Regions from separate parts of the Homo sapiens genome. Here region 1 is linked to region 2. The links are contacts of gene promoters, found by promoter capture Hi-C in human tissues and cell types (Jung and others, 2019). All regions are on one chromosome and are shown on one strand. The core of a region is centred on a gene start or on the middle of the fragment in contact, and the rest is flanking DNA. Distances in the headings are between cores, read along the strand shown. Region 1 has its middle 16 kb from the start of PPP1R15B. Region 2 holds the start of ZBED6 (zinc finger BED-type containing 6).

The links. The method cuts DNA at HindIII sites, captures the fragments that hold promoters and counts their contacts. A contact is called where the count stands out against the background at its distance.
Region 1: a fragment that was not itself captured here is called in contact with the fragment with the promoter of ZBED6 in region 2 in 1 of the 25 tissues and cell types used here (dorsolateral prefrontal cortex).

Annotation. Positions count from the first base shown.
Region 1 is chr1:204,392,435-204,399,631 of GRCh38, reverse strand. It overlaps the pseudogene LOC124904489 and a transcript of PPP1R15B not described here. Among named protein-coding and RNA genes, the nearest start is that of PPP1R15B, 16 kb to the left of the region's middle. The HindIII fragment of the contact is 6,586 bases long and covers 1-4,769 here.
Region 2 is chr1:203,790,213-203,797,034 of GRCh38, reverse strand. It overlaps ZBED6 (zinc finger BED-type containing 6), which reads right to left and starts at 1,412. Exons shown (of 17, transcript NM_001395895.1): 1 at 1-1,412. It overlaps ZC3H11A (zinc finger CCCH-type containing 11A), which reads right to left and starts at 1,412. Exons shown (of 18, transcript NM_001376342.1): 1 at 1,241-1,412. RefSeq lists enhancers at 1,292-1,711, 6,755-6,822. The HindIII fragment of the contact is 6,581 bases long and covers 1-6,169 here.

The DNA.
Region 1 (7,197 bases), core at 227-2,726, 600 kb before region 2:
CAGAGCCTAGAACTGTGTCTGGTATGCTATAGTCAATAAATATTTGTTGAATAACAACTTTTTTTTTTTTTTTTGAGACAGGGTTCCACTCCCATCACCCAGACTGGAGTGCAATGGTGCAATCTTGGTGCTGAACCTCCGCCTCCCAGGCTCCAGCGATTCTCCTGCCTTAGCCTCCTAAGTAGCTGGGACTACAGGCAGATGCCATCACACCCAGCTAACTTTAATTTTTTTGTAGAGATGGGGTTTCACCATGTTGCCCAGGCTGGTCTCGAACTCTTGGGCTCATGAGCTGCCTGCCTTGGCCTCCCAAAATGCTGGGATTATAGGCGTGAGCCACCACGCCTGGACTCTTTTTTTTAATATATATAAATAGAGATGGGGTCTGGCTATGTTGCCCATATAGCAACTCCTGGCCTCAAGCAGTCCTCCTGCCTTGGCCTCCCAAAGTGCTGGGATTACATGTGTGAGCCACTGGGCCTGGCCAAGTTAATAGCTTTCCCAAAGTCACCTCTCTTATCAGCTTTATTGAAGTTTCATCCACACAGCCTTGTCTGACCAGAAACAAGTGTGCCACAATCATCAGATGATGTAGAATCACAGAATTTAAATGTCCTTAGAGAAAAGCTACCGTAAGCTTTAACTAAATTTGTAGAAAGTAATTACAAATTTCAATTTGGCTAGGTATACCACATCCATTAATTCTAGTGTCATTATTAATATAAGACACATTGTTAATTTATGAATTTAATATGCGAGCAAATCAACTGAGACCCTCCTTTCCCAGAATTAATAGGCTGCATTGGAGTACCAGAGTATTCTTGCCACCACACCAGGGGTTTTAGCTCTTTGGCAGAAGATTGGCTTTGGGTTTCTAGTGATGCTCTGTTGTCTCCACCAGATGGCGTTATCTTCCATCTGGGAGTGCCTGATGGACACCTGTTATTACAGATCTGGTTGCTATTGCTCCCCTGGAGGTGGGTCCCTCAATGTGTAAACAAGCTGGAAAACTGCCCTGCCCTGCCCATTCCAGGCCTGCCTGGCCCAGTGTGACTCCACCTTTTTGTGGTAATTACCCAGAAGTAGGGGCTCTTTCTTATAGGAGAACCAAGATTTGTATTTGAACACAAACAAAGGAACTGATTTTTTTTTTGAGTCTTGCTGTCGCCCAGGCCTAGGCTGGAGTACAGTGGCACGGTCATAGCTCACTGCAGCCTCCAACTTTTGGGCTTAAACAATCCTCCCACCTCAGCCTCCCAAGTAGCTAGGACCACAGGCATGCACCACATTGCCTGGCTAATTTTATTATTTTTGTGTGTAGAGATGGGGTCTAATTATATTGCCTAGGCTGGTCTCAAACTCCTGGCTTCAAGAGATCCTACTGCCTGGGGCTCCCAAAGTGTCGCGATTACAGGCATGAGCCACCTCACTTGGCCCTTGTATACTTTTTTATCACTGTTCAAGTCACATTGAATTTTAATTGTGATTTGCTCTTTCCTTTCTTCCTCTGTGGTGGAAGGGTCTGCGCAGTGACCAGAGTATTTTAGACACATGATACACTTTTCTTTAACTCAAGTGGTAATTTCCATAGCCTCTTTTTTCCAACACACAGGCTCCCTCCCGACATAACAAGTAATTTATGAATTCATTTCAAAGAAGCAATTTTGTATGTGAAAAGGTCTATCTTCAATGTTTACATTATTTTGTATTTGTAGTATTTGATTTTTTTTTTTTTGAAAAGCTAGCATTATTAGTGATGACCTGAAACCCAAAGTTTTAAATCAGTTGATGTAAGGTCGTCATGACTACTCTTTCCAGTGGTAGCCTAAGGTTCGCTGAAACATTGTCATCGTTATGAAAGGCACTTCATTATGCAGGATACCATTCATATCCAGTTTTCTAAGATGGTTGAGGACATTGTTTTTTAAACTTTTCTGTTTTTTAAATTGACAAAAATTGTATATGTTTACTGTCTACAACATGATGTTTTGAAATATGTGTACATTGTGGAATGGTAAGTCAAGCTAATTAACATGTATTACCTCACATACTTAGCATTTTTTTTGTGGTAAGAACCCTTAAAATCTACTCTTAGCAATTTCCTTTTTCTATTTATTTATTTATTTGAGACAAGCTGGAGTGCAGTGGTGCAATTTCGCCTCACTGTAACCTCCGCGTCCTGGGCTCAAGCAATTCTCATGTCTCAGCCTCCCAAGTAGCTGGGACTACAGGCGCGTGCCACCACACCCGGCTAATTTTTTGTATTTTAGTAGAGACAGGTTTCACCCCATGTTGCCCAGGGTGGTCTCGTACTCCTGAGCTCAGGTGATCTGCCTGCCTTGGCCTTCCAAAGTGCTGGGATTACAGGCGTGAGCCATCACGCCTGGGCTTTTTATTTATTTATTTTATTTTATTTTATTATTTATTTATGTATTTATTTATTTTGAGACAGAACCTTGCTCTGTTGCCAAGCTGGAGTGCAGTGGCATGATCATGGCTTTCTTCAGCCTCAACCTCCTGGGCTCAGGCAATCCTCTTGCCTCAGTTTCCCGAGTAGCTGGGACCACAGGCTCACACCACCACAACAGGCTAATTTTTAAGTTATCTGTAGGGGCGAGATCTCCCTATATTGCCCAGGCTGGTCTTGAAGTCCTAGGCTTAAGTGTTCCTCCTGCCTCCCAAAGTGTTGAGATTACAGGTGTGAGCCACCTCACCTGGCCAATTTGCAAGAATATAATACATTGTTATTGACTATGGTCACCATGTCGTACAGTAGATCTCTTGAACTTATTCCTCCTCACTGAAAGTTTGTATCCTTTGAGCAACGTCTCCCCAACCCACTTCTTGTTTTTTATTAACTTATTAAAGTATAATTTACAATAAGTTTCACTCATTTTAAGTATGAATTCAATGAGTTTTGATAAACACGTGTAGTCATATAAACACCACCACTATCAAAATATGGATCATTTCCATCACCCAGAAAGTTCCCTTATGTTCTTTTGTATTCGGTCCCCTTCCCAACCTCCAGCTTTTGGCAGCCATTGCTTTTCTTTTCTTTGTCTTTTTTTTTTTTTTTGACAGACAGGGTCTTACTGTCACCCAGGCTGGAGTGTAGTGGTGTGATCACGGCTCACTGCAGCCTTATCTCCCTGGGTTCAGGTGATCCTCCCACCTCAGCCTCCTGAGTAGCTGGGACTACAGCTGTGTGCGACCACACCCAGCTGGTTTTTTGTTTTTTTTTTTTTGTTTTTGTTTTTGCTTTTTTTTTTTTTTTTGTATTTTTAGTAGAGATAAGGTTTTGGCATGTTGCCCAGGCTAGTCTTGAACTTCTGGGCTCAAGAGATCTGCCTGTTTTGGCCTCCCAACATGCTGGGATTGCAGGTGTGAGCCACCACGTCTGGCCTTTGATCTGCTTTCAACACTTTTAGCTCTTCTAGAATTTCAGAAAAATGGTATCGGATGTACAGCATGGACCCTTCTGTGGTGGGCTTCTTTACTGTAATGCTTTTGAGATTCATCTGTGCTGTTGAGTGTCTCTGCAGTCCATTCCTTCTGTTGAGTGTATCAGTAGTCCATTCCTTTTCATGGCTGAGTAGTATTTCATTGTATAATTATACCACTATTTGTTCATTTACTAGATAATAAACAGTTGGCTTGTTTAAGTATGAATTCAATGAGTTTTGATAAATATGTGTAGTTATATAAACATGACTACATATATAAACATATAAACATATACATATATAAGCACATATAAATTTGTGTCTATTATGAATAAAGCTTCTATGAACTGTTGAGTACAAGCGTTTGAGTGGACATATGATTTCATTGCTTTTTGATAAATCCAGGAGTGAGACTGCTGGATCATATGGTAAGTATATATCTAATTATATAAGAAACTCCCAAACAGTTTTCCAAAGTGGCTATACTACTTGGCAGCAGCGTATGAGCTCCAGTTGCTCCACATCCTTGCCAACACTTGATATTGTAAGTCTTTTTAAGTTTAGCTATTCTAGTGGCATCTTATTTTGGTGTAAATTTGCATTTCCTTGGTGTTTAATGATATGGAGCATCTTTCCACATGTTTATTTGCATTGATAAATACCTTCTTCAGTCAAGTGTCTGTTCAAATCTTTTGTCCTTTTTTTTAAGCCAAATTGTTAGTATTTATATGGATTTGTGTATGTGTGTGTGTCTTTAAAAACATATTCTAGATATAAGTCCTTTATATTTTGCAAATATTTCTCCCAGTCTGTGGCTTGCCTTTTTATTTTTTAAATTATGTAATTTGGGGAGCAGAATTTTTTTAATTTTGCAGAAGTTCAGTTTATCAATTTTTTCTTCTATGGTCCATGCTTTTCCAAAGGTCTTAGAAGTTTTTCCCTAACAAAGTCATGAATATTTTTGTTTATGTTTACTTCTAGAAGTTTTGTAGTTTTAGCTCTGACATTTAAGTCTTGTCATTCACTCTGAGTTAACCTTTGTATGTGTTATGAGGGCAAGGGTTAAGCTTCATATTTTTGCACATGGATATTCAATTGTTGAAAAGACTATCCTTTCTCCATTGAGTAATTTTGACATATTTTTCAAATTTCAGTTGACCATGTAGATGGATCTATTTCTGGACCCTGTATTCTGTTTCATTGATCTGTATCTCTGTGCTTACATAAATACCACACTGCCTTGATTACTGTAACTTTATAGTGAGTCTTGAAATTACTTTGTTCTTTTTCAAAATGGTTTTTGTTACTCCAGGCCCTTTGCTTTTTTTTTTTTTGAAAAACAAATCTTTATTGTCTAGAAATACATATTTAAAAAATCCTCTTCAAAAGATGCTATTCACTCATTTCCCCATTTCCTCTTCTTCCACATCTCTGATATAAAGGACATTATTACACCTTATTAAAACTTCACCTAGATGTCCAGGCAATGCCTCATTTATGAATTCTGTATCTGCAAGCTGCATGTTCATATAGCCATCTACAGATACCAGGTAGCCCTTATACTCCATTCCCACTTAAGCTTCACCATCACTGGCTCTCCTGTTAATCCACTGAGGAAATATTTGAGATTGAGGGGTAAACTCATTGTAACTAAAGGGAATGTTGCGGGCTATTTGCCACCGACCTAGCTGCTACTCTCCTGTCCCTCCTAACTCAGCAGATACTGCAGGTCCAGAACCACTGAGCTTTAAGAGAAATGGCTGCCAAATAGGAGTGTCACCCTTTGCATTTCTATTTGAATTTCAGGACTAGCTTATTAATTCTTACCAAAAAAAATGCGGGGCAGGTGGGGGGTGCTGGTTGGGCATTGAATGGAATTACACTGACTGTATGGATTGATTTAGGAAGAGTTGACATCTTAACAATATTGAGTCCTTTGATCCATAAACACACTATATTTCTCCATTTATTTGAGTCTTTTTAAGTTTCTCTCAAGTGTTTTGTAGTATTCAATATATTGATCTTGTACATATTTTGTTACATTATCCCTAAATATTTCCTTTTTGAGATACTATTATAAATTGTACTTTTTTCATTTCAATTTCCACTTCTTTGCTAGTAATATAGAAATACAATTTATTTTTCTATATTAACTCTGTGTCTTGTGACCTTTGAATATTTTACATAGATGATCATGTCTTAGAATAAAAATGACTTCGCTTCCTTCTTTCTCATCTGTATGCCTTTTATTTATGTTTTTCTTGCTTTATTGTACCAGCTAGTATAACAAGTACAAAGGCAAGTAGAAGTGGTCAGAGGAGGAATCCTTGCCTTGTCTTTAGGATCAGTGATGTCTTCTTTTTCATTCCTGATCTTGGTAATTTATGTCGTCTTCTCTCTCTCTCTTTTTTTGCTTATCAGTCTGGCTAGAGGTTTATTAATTTTATTGATCTTTTTAAAGAACCAGCTTTTGGTTTCATTGATTGTTTTCCAATTGTTTTTTGTTTTGCTTTGTTTTGTCCATTGATTTCTGATCTGTAGTGCATTTTCTTTCTTCTCCTTTTTTGGGGTTCAATTTGTTCTTTTTCTAATTCTTAAGGTGGCACTTAGACCACTGATTCAAGACCTTTCTTTTCTTCTAATATAAATATCTAATGCTAAAAGGTTCCCTATAGGCATCATTAGCTGCTTCTCACATATGTTTATATGTTGTGTTTTCATTTTCATTCAGTTCAAGCTATTTTCTAATTTCCTGTGTGATTTCTTCGACCTATGGTTATTGGAATTGTGTCATTTTGGCCAGGCACAGTTGCTCACACCTGTAATCCCAGCACTTTGGGAGGCCGAGGCGGGAGGATCACTTGAGCCCAGGAGCTCGAGACCAGCCTGGGCAAAATAGGGAGACCCTGTCTCTGCAGAAAAGCAAACAAACAAAACAACAACAACAACAATAACAACAAAAAACGTGGACATGGTGGCACACATTTGTGGTCCTAGCTATTCAGGAGACTGAGATAGAAGGATTTCTTGAGCCTGGGAGGTTGAGGGTGTAGGGAGCTGTGATCGTGCTACTGCACTCCAGCCTAGGTTACAAAGTGAGACCCTGTCTCCAAAAAAAGAAAAATTAAAAGTATGTCACTTAATTTTTAAGTTTAAACATTTGAGATATCCCAAATATCTTGTTGACTTCTAACTTAATTTTATGGTGCCTAGATAAAATTACTTTCTTTTATTCTAATCCTTTAAAATGCATTGAGATTTGTTTTAAGACCTAGCGTATGTCTGTCCTGTAGAGTGTTCCATATATGTTTGACCAAAAAAATGTGTATTCGGCCTTTGCTAGTGACATGTTCTCTATATGTTGGTTAGGTCAAGTTGATTGATAATGTTGTTCAAGCCCTCTATATACTTACTGATTTTCTAATTGTTTTATAAATTGATACTCCAAGAGAGGAGTATCAAAACACCAACTATAATCGTTCAACTGAATTGTTTATTTCTACATTCTCTACTGTCAGTTTTTACTTTCTGTGTTTTAGGGCTCTTTGCTAGGTGCATTTAGATTTATTTTTGTTTATCTTCCTGATTTTGCCCCCATGGGGACATTTGGAAAAGTCTGGAGACATTTTTGGTTGTCGCAAATGGGGAAATGCTGCCGGCACCTAGTAGCTAGAAGCCAGAGATACTGCTTAACATTCTGCAATGCCTGGACAGTCTCTGAAACAAAGAGTTATTCAGCTCACAATGTAGG
Region 2 (6,822 bases), core at 163-2,662:
CTCATTTAAACAAAAACATAGTGCATCATTCAACATTCATCATTTAGGACTGTGATTTGCCAATACAACCCAAAAAGTCAATTCTGGAAAGCCAACACAGACTCCGCATACTGGTCACAGCAAATGCTAGTTGAGCCCTTTCAGTTCTAACTAAAAGTAATACAACCTTTTAAAATGTGAGTGGCTGGAAAAAAATGCTTTGAGAAAAAAATTTTAAAACAAGGTTAAATGCTGCATTTTCAAAGTACTGTTTGTATTAAGAGTTAATTCAAGTTTAGTTTTCAGATATTTTTAGACTTGAGAAGCTTTTACAGCCTGTAAGTAACTCACAAGTTGTACGCTATAGAGATAGCAAAAAGTGAAATATGAACTTTAAACCACTTCCATTTTTCGATTGATCCCTCCCCTTCCCCCAATACCTACATACATTTACCCTAAAAAGCATCGCTATCTCTAGTTCCACAGCCTCTTTCTCAAGGTCCAGAACCAAGGCCTGGAAGATGTCAACAATATAGGCCTTCCCCATAGGAATCCGCACCGATTATGGGAGTTTAGGGGTGTTCTTCATTACGGTTTCACCAGTCCTACAAGGAGAACGGAAGTGTCCCTGTTGCTCTTGACTCCGACGCTGAGGGCCAGGGGTGGGAGTGTAATGAGAGTGGGGAATGGGTGTAGGATACCGGAATAAGGTCGGTGGCTTTCTGTATGTGGAGTTTGAGACAAGCTCCAAAGTACCGGGACCCTGGAGAGGAATGAGAGTAGGTAAATTCAGCGCCCGGCACTCAGTCTGATTGATTTAGGCAGTGAGGGTCCGCTCAACTAGAGAAACTGTTGCCCCGAAGAAAGCAATCTAGTGTCAGTTCTCTCTTCGGGATTCGGGGGAACAGTCGGTTTTCGGGGCTGCTCCGGGCTCCTCGAGATTAGCGAACACCGGATGTGGGGGAGGGGAGGAAGGTTGGCTGGGAAAGGAGCAGGCGCCGTGGGGGTGGGGTGAACGGGGTGGGGGTGGGGAGGATGGGAAAAGTGAGCGGGAGCCTGGGGCTCCCAGCCAGCCCCGGCGAGGGCCGCGACCGGGAGGTGGGGGGGAGGGGTCGTTACGGCGAAGCTGAAGGATCCGCTCTGACTTCCCGGGATAGGCCGCGACCCAGGGGCGAGGGGAGGCCGCTGCCACTCCCCTCGCCCTCTCCCCCACCTCCCCGGCCCCAAGCCACCCGGGAATCAAAAAAACGGGTCTAGTTACCAGAGAACAGAAACTTTACCGAACCGATGACACTATCCCCGACTCCCGCTTGCTGCCACGTCTTTCTTCTTGCTTGGCCGCTGCCGTCCGTCGTCCTCCCAGCAGCAGCAGCACTAGCAGAAAACCAAGACTGCCAGCGTCAAAGATGGCGCCTGGCTACAGGCTCCGCTCTAAGGCCCGGCCGGTAAAAGTGCCAGCACGACGCAGGGCGCGAGGATTCTGGAAGATGTAGTTCCTCTATGAGGCGATGCCTAAGATGGCTGCTCCGGGTCACAGGGTCACGTGACGGGGGAGGCGCTGGGTCGGGGAGTCCCTTCCCTTCAGAGGAATGCCTCGAAGCCGGCTTTCATAACGTTTTGTTTTTGTTTTTAAATCAAATGAGGTAATAAGCGGGAGGGCCGCAGGAACTGAGACTGCCATTCAGTAAGCGCTCAATTTATTCTTACCAAAGTGTTTGCTTAATGAGTAAATCTCCCAAACCATGTATACATTTAATTTAGAAATAAACTGTACTTTTCCTAAGCATGCAATGTAGAATGATTTGTTAGTTTATTTTTTACTTGAAGAAGTGAGATTGGGCTTTGGGGGGGTGTTTCTTTGATTTCTTAAAGCAAATTTGTGTATTGGAAAAGTAATTCATGCTCGTGACAAAATTCAGGAGAGTTAGTTGGAGGTCGCAATCAGCAGTCTCATCCCTGCTTCATTATTAACATTGTCCCTTATTTTCCCTTTTGAATGTTTTTACTTTTTCCCCCGGTTATAAAAGTAATACACGTGGCCGGTGCGGTGGCTCACGACTGTAATTCCAGCACTTTGGGAGGCCTCGGCAGGCGGATCACAAGGTCAAGAGATCGAGACCATCCTGGTCAACATGGTGAAACCTCATCTTTACCAAAAATACAAAAATTAGCTAGGCGTGGTGGCACGCGCCTGTAGTCCCAACTACTCGAGAGGCTGAGGCAGGAGAATCGCTTGAATCTGGGAGGCAGAGGTTGCATTGAGCTGACATCGCACCACTGCACTCCAACCTGGCGACAGAGTAAGACTCCATCTCAAAAAAAAAAAAAAAAAAAAAAAGTAAAAAACTTAATACACGTAAGTTTTTTTAGAAACAATACAGAAATATAGAGAGTAGAAAGTTAAAATCTCTATTAATCTCATTCTTGAGAAATAGCTCTCATTAACTTACCATATATCCTTTCTGGCTTTTACACTGAAAATATACTTAAATATATTACACATATAATAGGAGCCCAAGGTCCCCCTGGGGTAGTGGCTCAGCAGAACTCTAATTAGGTGGCAACATTTTACCTAACTTGGGTAAAGGATATAGTTGTGCTACTAAGAAAGGAAACACTTGATGATAAAGCAGATGGGACTTCAGGCACCTTTTATTTCCTCGTGTGCTTGTTCTTCCAGCTGCCGGGTTGGTGATGTGCGAGTCCCAGGCAGCCCAAGACTAGGAATTTATCAGAGCAGAGGGGTCCTGAGCCTCCTCATATCTGGGCTTTTATCTCCTTTCAAAGTAAGAACCACAACTTTAGAATCTTAGCTCCAATCTCTGCCTTACGTGACAGTGCTCTGGCATTGCCATGTCAACAGACCTAATAAGCAAGTTCCTGGTAGCCAATTTCTTTTTTTCTTTCTTTTTCTTTTTCTTTTGTTTTGGTCTTCATTTTTTTGGTCTGTGTGACTCTTACTGGTAACCAATTTCTGTCTGTGCCACGACACCTAGGGTTTTTAAAATTTACCAGAGGGCTCTCCACATAGCTTAAGGGTTTTCCAACCTAGGACTCTCCAAGATGCAGTCCTGGCCTGACTAGTGTGCTATATAGAGTTTATAGTTATATTTCAGTAAACCTAAAGTATCATTGATTGTAAGATACACTTTTATTTTACAAGCCTCTAAGTGGAAGAAAAAAACCAACAACTGCCAATTAAACTGACAGGCCGGCCGGGCAGGGTGGCTCACACCTCTAATCCCAGCACTTTGGGAGGTTGTGGCGGGCGAACCACAAGGTCAGGAGTTCGAGACTAGCCTGGCCAACATGGTGAAATCCTGCCTCTACTAAAAATACAAAAATTAGCCCAGCACAGTGGCACGCATCTGTAATCCCAGCTACTTGGAGGCTGAGGCAAGAGAATTGCTTGATCCTGGGAGGTGGAGGTTGCAGTGAGCCAAGATCACGCCATTGCACTCCAGCCTAGGTGACAGGCTAGGAAAGGATGTACATCTTAGAATGAATGAAAATATGAACAGGCTAAAACTATACATACCGTTTTGCAATTTGCTTTTTTCACTTTACAATATATCTTGAATATCTTTTAATGGTCATCAGCACTTAGAGGCCTACCATATTCTTTTTTTTTTTTTTTTTTTTGAGACAGAGTTTCACTCTTGTTTCCCAAGCTGGAGTGCAATGGCACAATCTCGGCTCAATGCAACCTCCGCCTTCCGGGTTCAAGCTATTCTTCTGCCTCAGCCTCCTGAGTAGCTGGGATTACAGGAATGCACCACCACGCCAGGCTAATTTTGTATTTTTAGTAGAGACGGGGTTTCTCCATGTTGGCCAGGCTGGTCTGGAACTCCTAACCTCAGGTAATCTGCCCACGTCGGCCTACATTCTTTTTAATAGCTCCCATCCCGCTCTCTGTAAGCCTCTTTTTACAATTTATTTCACCAGTCCCTTATTGATGGAAACAATCATGTTTCATTTTCCATTAGTATCTCTCAAGGGGGGGAAAGAAAAAATAATAGGGTAATAAGGACATTGAAGAGGGCAAGCTGGGCAGGGGCTCACGCCTGTAATCCCAGCACTTTGGGAGGCCCAGGCCAGCAGATCACTAGAGGTCAGGAGGTGAAGACCAGCCTGGCCAACGTGGCGAAAGCCTGTCTCTACTAAAAATACAAAATTAGCCGGGTGTGGTGGCACCCGCCTGTAATCCCAGCTACTCAGGAGTCTGAGGCAGGGAAGCACCTGAACCCAGGAGGCAGAGTTTGCAGTGAGCCAAGATTGCACCACTGCACTCCAACCTGGGCAACAGAGAGAGAACCTGTCTCACAGAAAAAAAAAAAAAAAAAGGCAGGAGAAAAAGCCTAAGGCTGTTGCAGAGAGAGAAAACTAGTTGGGAAACCCTCTAAGAGTCAGGAGAGTGCACATGCCAACCTTCCCCACCCCCCCATATATACACACAGAATTCTCAGGGGTGGGGCTGGGCTTGCCCTTTGTATGTTATAAGTGGGGGTGAAGTATCTAAACCAAGGACACAATGCCAGATTCCCCCTATTCATACTGCCCTTCAAATTCTAAATGGATTTTAAACATATCTAGACCTCTTCAGTGAATGACAAAACCTTTTGGGACGTTCAGTGTGTTTTTGCTTTGAGAGCAAAAGTTTGGGGAAAAAATGCAAAATTATTGAGACAAAATTAGGTTCAAGAGAATCTTTATTTAGACTAGAAAAGGAAATCACAACAAATTACACATTAAAAAAAAAAAAAAAACTGTGGCTGGGCACAGTGCCTCATGCCAGTAATCCCAGCACTATGGGAGGCCCAGGCCAGTGGATCACTTGAGCCCAGGAATTCAAGACCAGCCTGGGCAACATGGTAAAACCCCATGTCTACTAAAAATACAAAAATTAGCTGGATGTTGTGGCGTGCACCTGTAATCCCAGCTATTTGGGAGGCTGAGGCAGCAGAATCCCTTGAACCCGGGAGGTGGAGATTACAGTGAGCTGAGATTGTGTACCACTGCACTTCAGCCTGGGCGACAGAGTGAGACTCAGTCAAAAAAAAAAAAAAGAAAGAAAAAAAAATATATATGTATGATTATTGTCAAATTTGGTACAGCTTCTATCAAGTTTCTTAGATATATATAAGCACTAAGACTTTATTGAATTATTTAATACCCTCTTGGCCAGGCAAGAGCTACCATTTTTACTAAATCTATTATTTATTGCTATGTAAAAAATCACCCAAAAATGTAGTGGCTTAAGGAACAAACATTTGTTATTTCACGTGTCTGTGGGTCAGGAATTCAGAAGCAGTTTGGCTGGATGGTTCTGACTCAGAGTCTCTAATGAGTTTGCAATCAAGTTGGCCAGGACTGCAGTCATCTGAAGGCTTGACTGGGGCTAGAAGATACATTTCCAAGTCAACTCATATAGCTGTTAACAGGAGATGAGACCTCAGTTTCTCACTCTGAGGGCCTCTCCGTAGGGCTGCTCAGGATATAGGCAACAAGCTTCTCCCAGAGTGAATGACGAGAGAAATAGTAAAGATAGACACTATAAGCTGCAATGCCTTTTATGACCTAGCCTTGGGCATTACATACCACCATTTCTTCTGTATTCTATTGATCACACAGATTAACACTGGCATTATGTGGGAGGGGACTAAGCAAGGGCATGGTAACAGGAGCCAGGGATCATTGGGGTCTTTCTTGGAGGCTTGCTACCATGCCAGCTGTTAGTGATAACTGACTCGTCCATTTAAAATTTTAGATATGGCCAGGCACAGCGACTCATGCCTGTAATCCCAGCACTTTGGGAGGCCGAGGCGGGCAGATCACCTGATCAGGAGTTCAAGGCCAGCCTGCCAAACATGGTGAAACCCCGTCTCTACTAAAAATACAAAAATTAGCCGGGCGTAGTGGCATGCGCCTGTAATCCCAGCTACCTAGGAGGCTGAGGCAGGAGAATCGCTGGAACCCGGGAGGCAGAGGTTGCAGTGAGCCAAGATCATGCCACTGCACTCCAGCCTGAGCAACAGAGCAAGACTCCATCTGAAAAAAAAAAATAAAAAAAAAATAAAATTTTAGATGTGTGGCCAGGTGCAGTGGCTCACACCTGTATTCCCAGCACTTTGGGAGGCCAAAGCAGGTGGATCACCTGAGATCAGGAGTTCAAGACCAGCCTGGCCAACATGGTGAAACCCCCTCTCTACTAAAAATACAAAAATCAGCCAGGTGTGGTGGCATGCATCTGTAGTCCCAGCTACTTGGGAGGCTGAGGCAGGAGAATCACTCGAACCCAGGAGGCAGAGGTTGCTTGAACCCAGGAGGCAGAGGTTGCGGTAAGCCCAAGTTGCGCCACTGCACTGCAGCCTGGGCGACAGAGCGAGACTCCATCTCAAAAAAAAAAAAAATTTTAGACGTGTGAAGAATTTTCCACAGACTAGCCTCTGATGCCATATGTTTCAAACCTTGTCACCCCTCAATGATTTACATTCTTCCAGTGCCAGATGCTGTAGGGCAGGTTTAAAACAAAATGTGACCTCTGGCCCTACAACATTGGGTCATAATGCTAGATGAGTCACTACAGTGGGCAACAGGGGTATTCTTGAAAACTATTTCTAGCCCCATGAAAGTGACTGTAAATCACATAAATATAACCCAAAATAATTGCATCCCAACCCCCTTTTAGCCAGATCCCAAAATGCCCAATAAGGGGAAGGTACTAGAAAGGACAGCTGAGTGAAAAGAAACAGGGCTTTTAACCATTGTCATTAAAATCTTACTTTTGCAAGTTTTAGAATGACTGCATTGCTAAGGCCCTGTCCAGAGCCTTGAAGGGAGCTT